Regions from separate parts of the Homo sapiens genome. Here all the other regions are linked to region 5. The links are contacts of gene promoters, found by promoter capture Hi-C in human tissues and cell types (Jung and others, 2019). All regions are on one chromosome and are shown on one strand. Each heading gives the region's core, a stretch centred on a gene start or on the middle of the fragment in contact. The rest is flanking DNA. Distances are from core to core; before and after follow the strand shown.

What was found. Contacts are between HindIII fragments. The study calls those that stand out against the background at their distance.
Region 1: a contact is called between a fragment that was not itself captured here and the fragment with the promoter of AICDA in region 5, in 1 of the 25 tissues and cell types used here (adrenal gland).
Region 2: a fragment that was not itself captured here is called in contact with the fragment with the promoter of AICDA in region 5 in 1 of the 25 tissues and cell types used here (H1 embryonic stem cells).
Region 3: a contact is called between a fragment that was not itself captured here and the fragment with the promoter of AICDA in region 5, in 2 of the 25 tissues and cell types used here (H1 embryonic stem cells and liver).
Region 4: a contact is called between a fragment that was not itself captured here and the fragment with the promoter of AICDA in region 5, in 1 of the 25 tissues and cell types used here (aorta).

The regions. Positions count from the first base shown.
Region 1 is chr12:9,059,817-9,062,516 of GRCh38, reverse strand. The region is part of intron 1 of LINC00612 (long intergenic non-protein coding RNA 612); the gene reads left to right. It also overlaps a transcript of KLRG1 not described here. Among named protein-coding and RNA genes, the nearest start is that of LINC00612, 3.9 kb to the left of the region's middle. The HindIII fragment of the contact is 7,716 bases long and covers 1-2,700 here.
Region 2 is chr12:9,030,454-9,033,153 of GRCh38, reverse strand. It overlaps a transcript of KLRG1 not described here. Among named protein-coding and RNA genes, the nearest start is that of LINC00612, 33 kb to the left of the region's middle. The HindIII fragment of the contact is 4,513 bases long and covers 1-2,700 here.
Region 3 is chr12:8,909,479-8,912,178 of GRCh38, reverse strand. No RefSeq gene overlaps it. Among named protein-coding and RNA genes, the nearest start is that of PHC1, 3.7 kb to the left of the region's middle. RefSeq lists an enhancer at 1-537. The HindIII fragment of the contact is 5,079 bases long and covers 1-2,700 here.
Region 4 is chr12:8,992,754-8,995,453 of GRCh38, reverse strand. It overlaps KLRG1 (killer cell lectin like receptor G1), which reads right to left. Exons shown (of 5, transcript NM_005810.4): 3 at 166-335. Among named protein-coding and RNA genes, the nearest start is that of KLRG1, 4.6 kb to the right of the region's middle. The HindIII fragment of the contact is 5,260 bases long and covers 1-2,700 here.
Region 5 is chr12:8,611,541-8,614,240 of GRCh38, reverse strand. It overlaps AICDA (activation induced cytidine deaminase), which reads left to right and starts at 1,382. Exons shown (of 5, transcript NM_020661.4): 1 at 1,382-1,481. The coding sequence starts at 1,474. The HindIII fragment of the contact is 12,992 bases long and covers 1-2,700 here.

The sequences.
Region 1 (2,700 bases), core at 132-2,631, 450 kb before region 5:
CTATTGTGTCAGGTGATTCTTTATACAATATATAAATATATCAGATATATTATCCATCTATTGTGTCAGGTGATTTTTTATACAATATATAAATATATCAGATACATTATCCATCTATTGTGTCAGGTGATTTTTTATACAATATATAAATATATCAGATATATTATCCATCTATTGTGTCAGGTGATTTTTTATACAATATACAAATATATCAGATATATTATCCATCTATTGTGTCAGGTGATTTTTTATACAATATATAAATATATCAGATACATTATCCATCTATTGTGTCAGGTGATTTTTTATACAATATATAAATATATCAGATATATTATCCATCTATTGTGTCAGGTGATTTTTTATACAATATATAAATATATCAGATATATTATCCATCTATTGTGTCAGGTGATTTTTTATACAATATATAAATATATCAGATATATTACATATCTATTGTGTCAGGTGATTTCTTATACGATATATAAATATATCAGATATATTATCCATCTATTGTGTCAGGTGATTTTTTATACACTATATAAATATATCAGATATACTATACAGTTCAGCCCATCAAAGCACCATATTTTGGGGGGTTGGTTTCCGTGTCCCAACACTAGCTACGAAAATATTAGCTATTAGCTACCTATAACTCTTCAGTAGTAAATTCAAGAAACGTAAAGTAATTCTCTTCATTAAGTTCTTGCCTTGTCTACTAAAAAAATGGTCATCACCGATGTGGACAATGAAGACCTGTGGGGTTAAAAGCTCTAACTAGTATGCCTCCAAGATTCTTTGATTGCCTGCCATCATGATCGAAGAATAAATAACTTCTTTTTCATCTTATTTATTTATTTTTTGTAGAGATAGGGTCTCGCTATGCTGCCCAGGCTGGTCTCAAACTCCTGGGCTCAAGAGATCCTTCTACTTAAGCCTCTCAAAGTGCTGGAATTACAGGGGTGAGTCACCACGACTGACCATTAATAATTTCTTTCAATGACACTTTAACATAGGCTCATTCATCTTTACCTCTAAAGAAAAGTCTTTCTGGTCTTTTTAAAATTATATTTTTTGGCCAGGCACAATGGCCAGGTGCGGTGGCTGACACCTGTAATCCTAGCACTTTGGGAGGCCAAGGTAGGAAGATTGCTTGAGGCCAGGAGTGCAAGACCAACCTGGCAAACATCTGGAAAACATAGCAAGGCCCCATCTCTATTAAAAAAAAATTAATTCTATTTTTCTAAGAGAAAAAAGATTCCCAATTCAACAACACTTTTCAAAAACTTTATCTGGCAGCTACTCAGGAGATTGAGATGGGAGGATCATATGAAGCCCAGGAATTCAAAACCAGTGTGGGCAACATAGTGAGATCCTATCTCATAAAAAAATAAAAAATAAAAAAAGCTTTACTTGGAATACAACCCATGACTCTGGTTATAAATACAAAATTCTTCAAATTCATTTAAAGGAATTTAATCCTAGCTTCTCGGATGAAAAAAGGAAATAATATTCACAATTTGATCCATCATCAGTAGACAAGTTAAATGTGTTTCACAAAAGCAAGACATATTAATTAAGCAAAATCATATTCGAGTAACCACAGGAAATATAAATATACTGTCTCTTACCTAGAGAAATCTTATAGTCTAATTGTGAAGATAGTCTTCACGTGACGAAAAAGATCATCATTAATCCAAAACATATAAGTTATAAAGAAGCGACATATACCAGCAATTCTAAAATCTGGTTAGCATCCTTTGTAGAATTTATTTTAAAATGCAGATATCCAGGTCTCATCAATAAAGATTTAATTAATTATTTTTGGGGATGTGCTCAGACATCTGCGTTTTTTGTTTTTTGTTTTCGTTTTTTTGTTTTTTGAGATGGAGTCTCACTCTGTTGCCCAGGCTGGAGTGCAATGGCGCAATCTCAGCTCACTGCAACCTCTGCTCCCAGGTTCAAGCAATTCTTCTGCCTCAGCCTCCCTAGGAGCTGGAACTATAGGCGCCCACCACCACGTTGGGCTAACAGGCATCTATGTTTTTAATGAACTCTGTAGGTGGTTCTATCATGCAGTTAGTTTTCAGAACCATTCACACTGACAGTAAAGGCTATTTATTCCCAGCAGTTGAAAGACCACTAAGGACACAGGAATAGTTAGCAAAGCTACTTAAAGATGCCAGGGCTGGGGCCGGGTGCGATGGCTCACGCCTGTAATCCCAGCACTTTGGGAGGCCAAGGTGGGCAGATCATGAGGTCAGGAGATCGAGACCATCCTGGCTAACACAATGAAGCCCCGTCTCTACAAACAAACAAACAAACAAACAAAATACAAAAAATTAGCCGGATGTGGTGGCGGGCACCTGTAGTCCCAACTACTCGGGAGGCTGAGGCAGCAGAATGGCTTGAACCCAGGAGGCGGAGCTTGCAGTGAGCCGAGATCACGCCACTGCACTCCAGCCTGGGCGACAGAGCGAAACTCCATCTCAAAAAAAAAAAAAAAAAAAAAAAAAAGATGCCAGGGCTGGCTGGGCACAGTGGCTCACACCTGTAACCCCAACACTTTGGTTTGGGAGGCCAAGGCGGATGGATTGCTTGAGTTCAGGGGTTCAAGACCAGCCCAGGAAACATGGCAAAACCTCATCTCTACCAAAAACACAAAAATTAGCCGGGCATAGTGGCATGCACCTGTGG
Region 2 (2,700 bases), core at 171-2,670, 420 kb before region 5:
CCAGCAATCTTTTGATTCACAAATTCTTTCAAGGAATTTGTCTCTGCAATCATGTAATCACCGGCAGTTTCTTCCTGCCCTCTGCACAGGCAAAATCAATTCACTGAGACTACGGCATAGCAGTAAAGAAAGAGTTTGATTGACAGGAGGCTAACTCATGTAGTAGAACCAGAAATATCACTCAAATCAGTCTCCCTGAAGGCTCAAAGTTTTGGGGGTTTTAAAGGATAGTTGGTGGTCAGAGGGCTAGAGAATGGGGAATATTGATTGATTGGGGTAAAATCATAGGAGTGTGGAAAATAGTCTTCATGCACTGAATTGGCCTCTGGGTAGGGCTACAGGACTGATTGACTCATGAGTTGCAGGTCTGGCCCGAGTCAGCTGGTCATGAGAAACGTTAACAGTCTGAAAAAAATCTCAAAAGGCCAATCTTGGGTTCTATAACAGTTGATGTCATCTACAGGAGTAATTGGGGAAGTTACAAATCTTGTGACCTCCAGAACAATGGCTGGTTATCGTTTCACTTTGCCTACATTTTAGCAGAATTCAGGCCCCTCTCATAATTCCTAATCCTAACCTGTGGCCTTTCATTAGTTTTACAGAGGTGGTTTAGTTTTAGGAGAGGGCTATTATCATCTTTGCTCTAAGGTTAAAGTATAAATTAAGTGCCTCCTGAAGTTAGTTTGGCCTACACTGAGGAATCACCGAAGACATCTTGTAGCTTAGAAGCAAAATGGAGTCAACTATGTCAGTTTTCTCTTACTGTCATAATTTCGCAAAGGTGGTTTCAATCAGTCTCTATCTTTTCCTGATATGGGCTGTTGGTAATTGTCCTTAGACCAGTTTGGAAAGTCCTGTAGGGTAAGCTAAGAACTCTCTTTGGAATATAGGATTTCTTAACACCTATTGTTCTCAGCTTTAGATTTTAGCCAAAATTCTGAGTCAACCAAAAACACTCTTTCTAATATTTTATTATACTCATCACTGAGTAGCTTTTTGCACCCTCAAAAAAATCAATTAATCATAGGTGAGCTTCTGTGATGATTAATTTTATGTGTCAGCTTAACAGGGCCATGAAATATCCATATATCTGGTTAAGTATTACTTCTGCGTGTGTCTGTTCAGGTGTTTCCACTAGAGATTAGTATTTAAATTAGTGGACTGAGTAGATTCTCCCCCAGAAGGAACCATCCCTGCCAACACTTTGACTTTGGGCCTCCAGAACTGTCAGACCATACATTTCCGCTGGCTTTAGCCACCAAGTTTATGGTACTTTGTCAGGGCAGCACTAGGAAATTAATACGGGTCAGACAAACTCAACCAATTGTCAGCCAGAAAAGATTTAAATTTACCTTTAGCCTGGAAGCCCTTGCTTTGAGTTGTCCCACCTTTCTGAGCGAAACCAATGCATTTCTTAAGTGTGTTTGATTGATGTGTCATGACTCCCTGAAATATATAAAACTAAGCTGTGCCCCGACCACCTTGGGCACATGTTCCCAGGACCTCCTGAGGGCTGCGTCGTGGGCCATGGTCACTCATATTTAGCTCAGAATAAATCTTCAAATATTTTATAGAGTTTGACTCTTTTTGTTGACAATATTTTGGTGCCCAAATACATGAGGCCTCAGAGAAGACTCAGGACCCTGAAAGAGTTGCCCGAAACCAGAGCTAAGGTACCAGCAGCGGCCCGTTGAAGTCCCACTGAGTTCAAGCTTCTCCCCCGGTGGAACGGGTAAGTCCTCCTGAGCCCCAGACCTCCCTTTGTTTGACAGTCCTTGATTTATTCTGAGCTGGTTTTCTCCTAGGAAATTGTTGTTTAAGGATCCTAATTCTAATTCAGAGATGCATTCTAAAGGGAATTCTCTATTGCTTTTTCTCCTAAAATTTATCTTGATTCTGAGGAACTGAACTGTTGTTTTCAAAGCTAAATGAGAGACTGAGTTTTTCAGCTCTGAAGACAAAGGGCTTTTGCCCCTCCCAGCCTAAAGGTGCCCCTGGGTGACCAGGGGCCTCACAGGAGTGCCTGAGGGGTTGAGCCCTCACCACGTGCAGCAGCCCTGCAGGGAAATCCCCAACAAAAATTAATTCTAAAATGTTAAAATTAATTTCTGCCCACAGTCTCATGCCATTGCAAGCTAGGCCTCCACAATTTGACCATTCTCTCACTACCCCCTGCCGGGAGATGCTATCTGGTGTGCTCACTGCAATCCCTGTTACATTGAAAACAGGTTACCCTATCTTATCAACCTTTACATAGAACATCCCCACTCCTCTTTGCCTTAACTACAAGCCAACTGTTTCTTAAAATTATGTCCTCTCAAAATGAGGCTACTAAGTTGCAAGGAGAGTAGAAGTAGTGGAAGAGAGGAAAGTCAGCATTTGTGTTATTGTGGTTTTCCTTGCTGACTCCATACCATTGTTTTTTATCATGTAAAAATAGTTCCTTTAGGCTGGGCACAGTGGCTCACGCCTGTAATCCCAGCACTTTGGGAGGCCGAGGCGGGCAGATCACAAGGTTAGGAGTTCGAGACCAGTCTGGCCAGCATAGTGAAACCCCGTCTCTACTAAAAATACAAAAAATTAGCCAGGTGTGGTGGTGGGCTGCTGTAATCTCAGCTACTTGGGAGGCTGAGGCAGGAGAATCATGTGAATCCGGGAGGTAGAGATTGCAGTGAGCCAAGACCTTGCCATTGCACTCAA
Region 3 (2,700 bases), core at 177-2,676, 300 kb before region 5:
GTTTCTCATTTTCATTTAATGACTCTGCTTGAATTAGACTTTTCTTTTTCAAACAAAATGGTTCTTCTGAATGGAGGCTACAGAATGTCTTTACTCTGCATAACACTGAAGGCCATTAGCCTAAACAGGTGAGAAGGAAAAGCATTTAATCCGGTGTATGGAAATGGAAGCCCTCCTGCAAACTTCTCTAAATAAGGAAGGATCCTGGTTTGAAAGGCTGTCGATGTTTGGCAGCAACTGAAGCAAATAGACTAGAAGTTAAGCTAATAGAACTTTTCATATCAACTGAACATTGCTTAAGCATTCCTCAAGCTTCTCCTGTAAACCTAGCATTCTGCAATAAATTGTGAAGGAAGAGATGTCCTTTACCCTAAAGGTGTTAGTATCTTTGGAATGTGTCTTTCTACAAGTAATCAAGTAAGAATGTGTGACCATGTTTTTATGCAAATATGGATAGGAAGAAGTAGAGAAAAAAGGAAATCATAACCTTTACTCTCCCCACCACCAACTGTGGCTGTGAACCACCATACACAGCCCACCTGTGTCTCACTATAATTCTGCATGCCACTTTAAGGTCTAGTTGGGAGAAAATGAAGATTGAGTGGATTTATAGGCTCTTAGATATTTAAAGGAAAAAAAAAGAACTTTAAAACTAAGCCCCTCAGTTTTCAGTGAAGACAATTGAAGTCTAAATGATAAATGTAGAAGAGGGATATTTCGTAATCCCTGGAAAATAGAAAATGTCCAATAAATATTAGTTAACTGAATTAATTTCCTAGATTCTTGCCCTTCTCTCATAGGAAAAGAATATGAAATTAAAAGATATAAAGGATACCTCTCATCTCTCGCTACTAATACCTACCATAGATCCTTTCTTCAAGCAGAAGTTTAAAATTAACATACTAATTGGTTCAGCCCAATATTCCATCCATCATTGCCCGCAAAAGATATAGAAGTACCCCTACATCCTTAAGGAGCATAAGACTGACGATAACATACTCTTCATCAGTATTGACAGTTATAATGATGGCAAGTTATGCACCTTTCCTTAACTTTGGTTTGCTTTCAGTAAAACAGGGGTAACACCTGGTAGTTGGTGGAAATAAGTGAGATGTTTGTAAAGCACTTCACATTGGGACCTGACACATAGCACAGGCTATTATTAATTTTCCTTAGTAACTAATATATTTTTGTGATCACCAAATAGAACTAAACCATTCTTTATGTTTTATTCAGTTTACATCACAACCTTATTAACTCACAATTTAGTTGAGTTTATGCATTAATTAGTTTAGTGAACTTACTATTATTTTATATAACAAAGAGTATTCCCTTCCTTGTATACTAAATTTACCTCTTTCGGGCTTCAGGTGTGTCGTCTTGTCTACTATTTCAGTATTTAGGGAGCAAAACCATGTTGGGACCAAGCACTAGATTTATACCCTCTGGGATTATGTGTCCTAGGCCCAGAGAACCAGGTACCTGGGAAAACATCTAAAGGGAAAAACAATTCAAAATATACTTAGAGCCTCTGCTCATGGCCTCACATGCATTATTGCATTCAACTCAATAACCTTTTCTGCTAGCTGTTTTTAATCCTTAATTTATAGATGAGGAAATTAAAGCTCTGGAAGATTAGGTAAATTGCTCAAGGTTCATAGGTGTAATAAGTAATGGAGTCAGAATTTAAATTCAGGTCTGTCCATCTTCAAAGCTCATAACTACATTATATCCTTCACAGTGTGAAAATAGAGTGATGCAAAAGATCTATTTAAAATGCTTAGCACACACATAAACATTTGCACAAAGAAGCTTGGCATTTGCCATGGTAAATACCTGCAATGGAAGGCCACTCTGCCTTTGTTAACTAGAGAAATAGCTCTAGTTATCAGTCTGTAAAGACACTGTGGAGATGTCTCAGCAGAAAATAGAGATATATATATTATTTCCCTAAATTGGCTGTTTTCTCTCTTGTCTACTGATAAACTGTGGTAAGCAGAACAATGCCCCCCCACCAAGGATGTCCCCATCTGTGAAATCTGTGAATACGTTATGCTCCATGGCAAAAAGAAATTAAAGTTGCAATTGGAATTAAGGTTGTTAATCAGTTGACCTTAAAATAGGGAGATTATCATGGATTACCTTGGCAACCCAGTGTAATCACAAGCGTCCTTAAAAGTGGACGAGGGAGGCAGGAAAGACAGGTTCAGTGATGTGACATGAGAAGTATTTAACCTGTCATTTCTGTCTTTGACACTGGAAGGGGGCCACAAGCCACGTAAGGTGGGAAGCCTTCAGAAGCCAGAAAAAGCAAGGAAATGGATCCTCCCCAGAGCTTCCAGAAAAGAACACAGACAGCCCTGCTGACACCTTGATTTTCACCCAGTGAGACGCATGTCAGACTTCTTTCTTTTTTTCTTATGTTATTTATTTATTTATTTTAATTTTTATTATGTTCTTTTTGAGACTCTTTTTGAGTCTCACTCTGTCACCCAGGCTGGAGTGCAGTGGCGTGACCTTAGCTCACTGCAGCCTTGACCTCCCAGGTTCAAGCAATTCTCATGCCTCAGTTTCCCAAGTAGCTGGGATTACAGGCGCCTGCCACCATGCCCCGCCCAGCCTATTTTTGTATTTTTAGTAGAGACAGGGTTTTTGTTTTTTTGTTTTTTTGTTTTTTTTTTTGAGACGGAGTCTCACTCT
Region 4 (2,700 bases), core at 167-2,666, 380 kb before region 5:
AAGAGGAAAGAGAAGAAGAGGGAAGGGGAAGAATATAGTATCCCCCCCAAATCACAGATTCCTTCTGTTCCTTAAAAGAGGATACATGATACATTTAAATAGCAGTTTAAAAACAAAAACAAAAACAAAACAAAAACCCTACATTTTCTAAATGTTTGCATTTACCATTTCCTGATTGTCCGTTATCACAAGGAGGTGTGAGTCTCTGGCTAGGCAGAATTCCAGACTAGAATTCCAGTCCTTTTCCTCCACTGAGAAATAATAACAATGGTTACCATATTTCATCCAGCGGTCTGGGCAGCTAGGACAGCTGGCACAAGTGGAGTAGTTGGAGCCTAGGAGAGAAGAGGACCTGGTTCACATCTTTATGGACCACTCAGTCTTGGAAATGAAATGGGAGATAAAATGGAATATGGCAGCCCTGGGTCTTCCCTGCTCCACCACTTTTCAGATTAAGGGTTAGAGAAATGTGTAACAATGCGTGGTGTCAATTTGAATACCTCATAATGTCCTCATAATGTCCAACTCCATCATCTACTAAGTATATATTCCACTACACAAGAATATGACTATAACTGAAGGAACAAAGAAGAAAGCATACAACAATCTGCCTGAAAACTCTGGAGCAAGTACTTGACTTGTGCTAGAGATCTCTGTGCACATGTAATATACACACACCAGATAACTGTGAATTCATATGATATGCATCTGTGTACTGTCTTTGCTCTGTGTATATATTGCATAATTGCATAATGTATATTGCTTAAATCAGGCAGAATCATTCAGAATGCCCAACTGAAAATGCCAAAAAGAAATTAGGAAAAGCAAACTTAACTAGAATGAAAGGTTTTGCTTTTTTATTATCACAGATGTAACTGTCCCTCACCATTGAAAACTGGAAAAAAACCCTTATACCTCAGCAAAAAGAACTTACTTTGATATTTTTCAAAAGGGTTTTCTGGCAGAGAAGCATAACAGGTGCTAAAGTGAAAAGTGATAGAATGCCCTAACCGAGCTCTTTTAAATACGGAAGATCCACATTCCTTTAAAATGGTTGGTTCATAGTTCTGTCAAGATGAAAGGGAACTGACCAGGCATGGTGGCTCACTCTTGTAATCCCAGCACTTTGGGAGGCCGAGGCAGGTGGCTCACATGAGGCCAGGAGTTCAAGATCAGTCTAGCCAACATGGTGAAACCTCATCTCTACTAAAAATACAAAAAAATCAGCTGGGCATGGTGGCACCCGCCTGTAATCCCAGCTACTTAGGAGCTGAGGCATGAGAATCACTTGAACCCAGGAGGCAGAGGTTGCAGTGAGCCAAGATCACACCACTGCACTCCTGCCTGGGCGACAGAGCAAGACACTGTCTCAAAAACAAACAATCAAAGATGAAAGGGAACTGAATATGCTTTCAAGGTAATTCCAACCAAGATTCCAAAATTCTATTGATTTTTCTACTTCAGTTTCAATACTTAAACATATGTGCATAAACTCGCCATAAGCACAATTCTACAGTGAGCAAGTATGAGCCATTATACTCCATGAGCACATGTGTAGATATATAATTGCAGAATAGAGTATATATCTACTCTAGATTTGGGAGTTACAAAGTGGGGAAAGTAGTATTTTTCATATAAATATTAGATAATTGTTCTCTAGGAAGTACTGGCATACAACCAATATAAGTTCTGGAGATCAAGCTGTTAAATTGGCACCTTATAGATTTTGCTTTTTCCATACAACTGTGACATTACTCAGCCTGGATTAGAAATTCCCAACTTCCCTAGGAGTTCCTTTTTGTCAAAGGTCGGACTTGGCTCTGAGGTAGAAGCCCTGGAGCTGAACTCTTAGAATCCTAATAAATCGGCAGAGCGCAATGGCTCACACCTGTAATCCCAGCACTTGGGGAGGCCAAGGCGGGCAGATCACAAGGTCAGGAGTTCGAGACCAGCCTGGCCAACATAGTGAAACCCCGTCTCTAATAAAAATACAAAAAATTAGCTGGGCGTGGTGGCAGGTGCCTGTAATCCCAGCTACTCGGGAGGCTGAGGCATGAGAATCGCTTGAACCTGGGAGGCAGAGGTTGCAGTGAGCCGAGATCACGCCATTGCACTCCAGCCCAAACAACATTGCGAGATTCTGTCTCAAAATTTTTAAAAAAATTTAAAAAAGAACCCTAATAAATCACTTCTGTGTAATCGGTCACTATCATCCCCTAAAAATATAAACCTAAGCTAGGACTCTAGACTGTAAAACAACAAACTGAGAGTCCTCTAGATCACCAGATTTAAGGTCCTAGAAGAACTAAACTTAAAAATTAGTTTTAGAAAATGTGAAAGCACCTGAATGGCAAAAAAAAAAAAAAAAAAAATTCAGAATGTTTCATTACATTATGATATATCTATTATGTGAAAAGTTAAACATCATTAATATTATAATTCAATCATCCCAATAAATATGGCAGTAAGGAAATGTTTCTGGCAACATAAAATTAAAAAGCAATATACAAAATTATGAGCATACTACGATAAGAACTATTCTCAGCCTTGCATTAAAAGAAAGAAAGGTGGGAGAAATTTTAAGAGGACTTGACTGCAGTTCTATTAAGAAAATATGGTCAGGTGCAGTGGCTCACACCTATAATCCCAGCACTTTGGGAGGCCAAGAAGGGCAAATGGCTTGAGCCCAGGAGTTTGAGA
Region 5 (2,700 bases), core at 133-2,632:
TCTTGAGTTTCAAGAAGTGGTCTGATAGATTTGCCTGTGTCCCCACCCAAATCTCATCTTGAATTGTAGTTCCCACAATTCCCACATGTCATGGGAGGGACCCAGTGGGAGGTAGTTGAACAATGGGGGTGGGTCTTTCCCATGCTGTTCTCATGATAGTGAATAAGTCTCACAAGATCTGATGGTTTTATAAAGGGATTTCCCCCTGCGTGAGCTCTCTCTTGCCTACCACCATGTAAGATGTCCCTTGCTCTTCTGCCATGATTGTGAGGCCTCCCCAGCCATGTGGAACTGTGAGTCAACTAAACCTCTTTCCTTTATAAATTACCCAGTCTCAGGCATGTCTTTATTAGCAGTGTGAGAACAGACGAATACATGGTCCAAGCTAGGGCTATTGATTTGAAAATCATCAAGGTATAGATGGTATCAAAGGCTTGAGGCAGGAAGAGAGCAGAGACCCTAGCTGCATTGCTTAGCATTGCATCCCTAGCACCTGGCATAGTTTCCATTAACAGTAGGCATGAAGTATCTACTCAGTGAATAAATAGAATGCATATGGGCTACAGTAGGAGAGAGAAATAAAATCTTTAATAGACCAAGTTCTATGAGAGCACAAAATTAAAGTCTTTTATTTGAAGATCTTAGCCTGTTTTCCAAATTCAGTGCAGCCAGTTAGACACTGAATCTGTCTGGTGAAACAAGCATTTTTGTATTTTGGGGGACTGCTGCTGCTTCTGACTCCAAATTAAGGATTTTTTTTTTTTCTAAAAAAGATGGCTCATGCAAAAATCACTCTTTGGTGTAAATATCTAGTCTTCAAGCAATTCTTGTAATGCAATCAGAAAGAAAAAAATCCATGGTTTGGGAGGCAAAATTTTTGTGTTCTAAATTCTATATAACTGAGTTCATTTGCTTAACTGCAAAGCAGGAGCTGCTAGTGCCTGTCTGTACTGAGGTTCAGAGAGACTGTGGGAATATGGGGGAATTAGAGGCTATCTGAGGCTCTTCAACACAATAACCCAAGAAGCTATTTAAATGCTCTTTAAGGTATTTACATAAATATTACTATTCTCATTGTGCTTTTATTTTGTGTTATCATGATTATAATTGAAGTGTCTACTGTTACTGCCTCCTGATCTTTGCTAGCTATGGAGCATGGACTGGGCTTTTAGAGCAGCAGCCCCAAAGGAACCTAAACATTAAAGCAGAGCTGCCCTCAATGGTTTAACCTGTGTGACTCTGCCTATGACAGCCCCACCCACCCATCTTCACTGGATCCAAATCAGGAGCAAGGCCGTTGGGGTACCTGGTGGGGGTGATGCTGTCAGGGGAGGAGCCCAAAAGGGCAAGCTCAAATTTGAATGTGAAGGGCCAATGCACTGTCAGACTAAGACAGAGAACCATCATTAATTGAAGTGAGATTTTTCTGGCCTGAGACTTGCAGGGAGGCAAGAAGACACTCTGGACACCACTATGGACAGGTAAAGAGGCAGTCTTCTCGTGGGTGATTGCACTGGCCTTCCTCTCAGAGCAAATCTGAGTAATGAGACTGGTAGCTATCCCTTTCTCTCATGTAACTGTCTGACTGATAAGATCAGCTTGATCAATATGCATATATATTTTTTGATCTGTCTCCTTTTCTTCTATTCAGATCTTATACGCTGTCAGCCCAATTCTTTCTGTTTCAGACTTCTCTTGATTTCCCTCTTTTTCATGTGGCAAAAGAAGTAGTGCGTACAATGTACTGATTCGTCCTGAGATTTGTACCATGGTTGAAACTAATTTATGGTAATAATATTAACATAGCAAATCTTTAGAGACTCAAATCATGAAAAGGTAATAGCAGTACTGTACTAAAAACGGTAGTGCTAATTTTCGTAATAATTTTGTAAATATTCAACAGTAAAACAACTTGAAGACACACTTTCCTAGGGAGGCGTTACTGAAATAATTTAGCTATAGTAAGAAAATTTGTAATTTTAGAAATGCCAAGCATTCTAAATTAATTGCTTGAAAGTCACTATGATTGTGTCCATTATAAGGAGACAAATTCATTCAAGCAAGTTATTTAATGTTAAAGGCCCAATTGTTAGGCAGTTAATGGCACTTTTACTATTAACTAATCTTTCCATTTGTTCAGACGTAGCTTAACTTACCTCTTAGGTGTGAATTTGGTTAAGGTCCTCATAATGTCTTTATGTGCAGTTTTTGATAGGTTATTGTCATAGAACTTATTCTATTCCTACATTTATGATTACTATGGATGTATGAGAATAACACCTAATCCTTATACTTTACCTCAATTTAACTCCTTTATAAAGAACTTACATTACAGAATAAAGATTTTTTAAAAATATATTTTTTTGTAGAGACAGGGTCTTAGCCCAGCCGAGGCTGGTCTCTAAGTCCTGGCCCAAGCGATCCTCCTGCCTGGGCCTCCTAAAGTGCTGGAATTATAGACATGAGCCATCACATCCAATATACAGAATAAAGATTTTTAATGGAGGATTTAATGTTCTTCAGAAAATTTTCTTGAGGTCAGACAATGTCAAATGTCTCCTCAGTTTACACTGAGATTTTGAAAACAAGTCTGAGCTATAGGTCCTTGTGAAGGGTCCATTGGAAATACTTGTTCAAAGTAAAATGGAAAGCAAAGGTAAAATCAGCAGTTGAAATTCAGAGAAAGACAGAAAAGGAGAA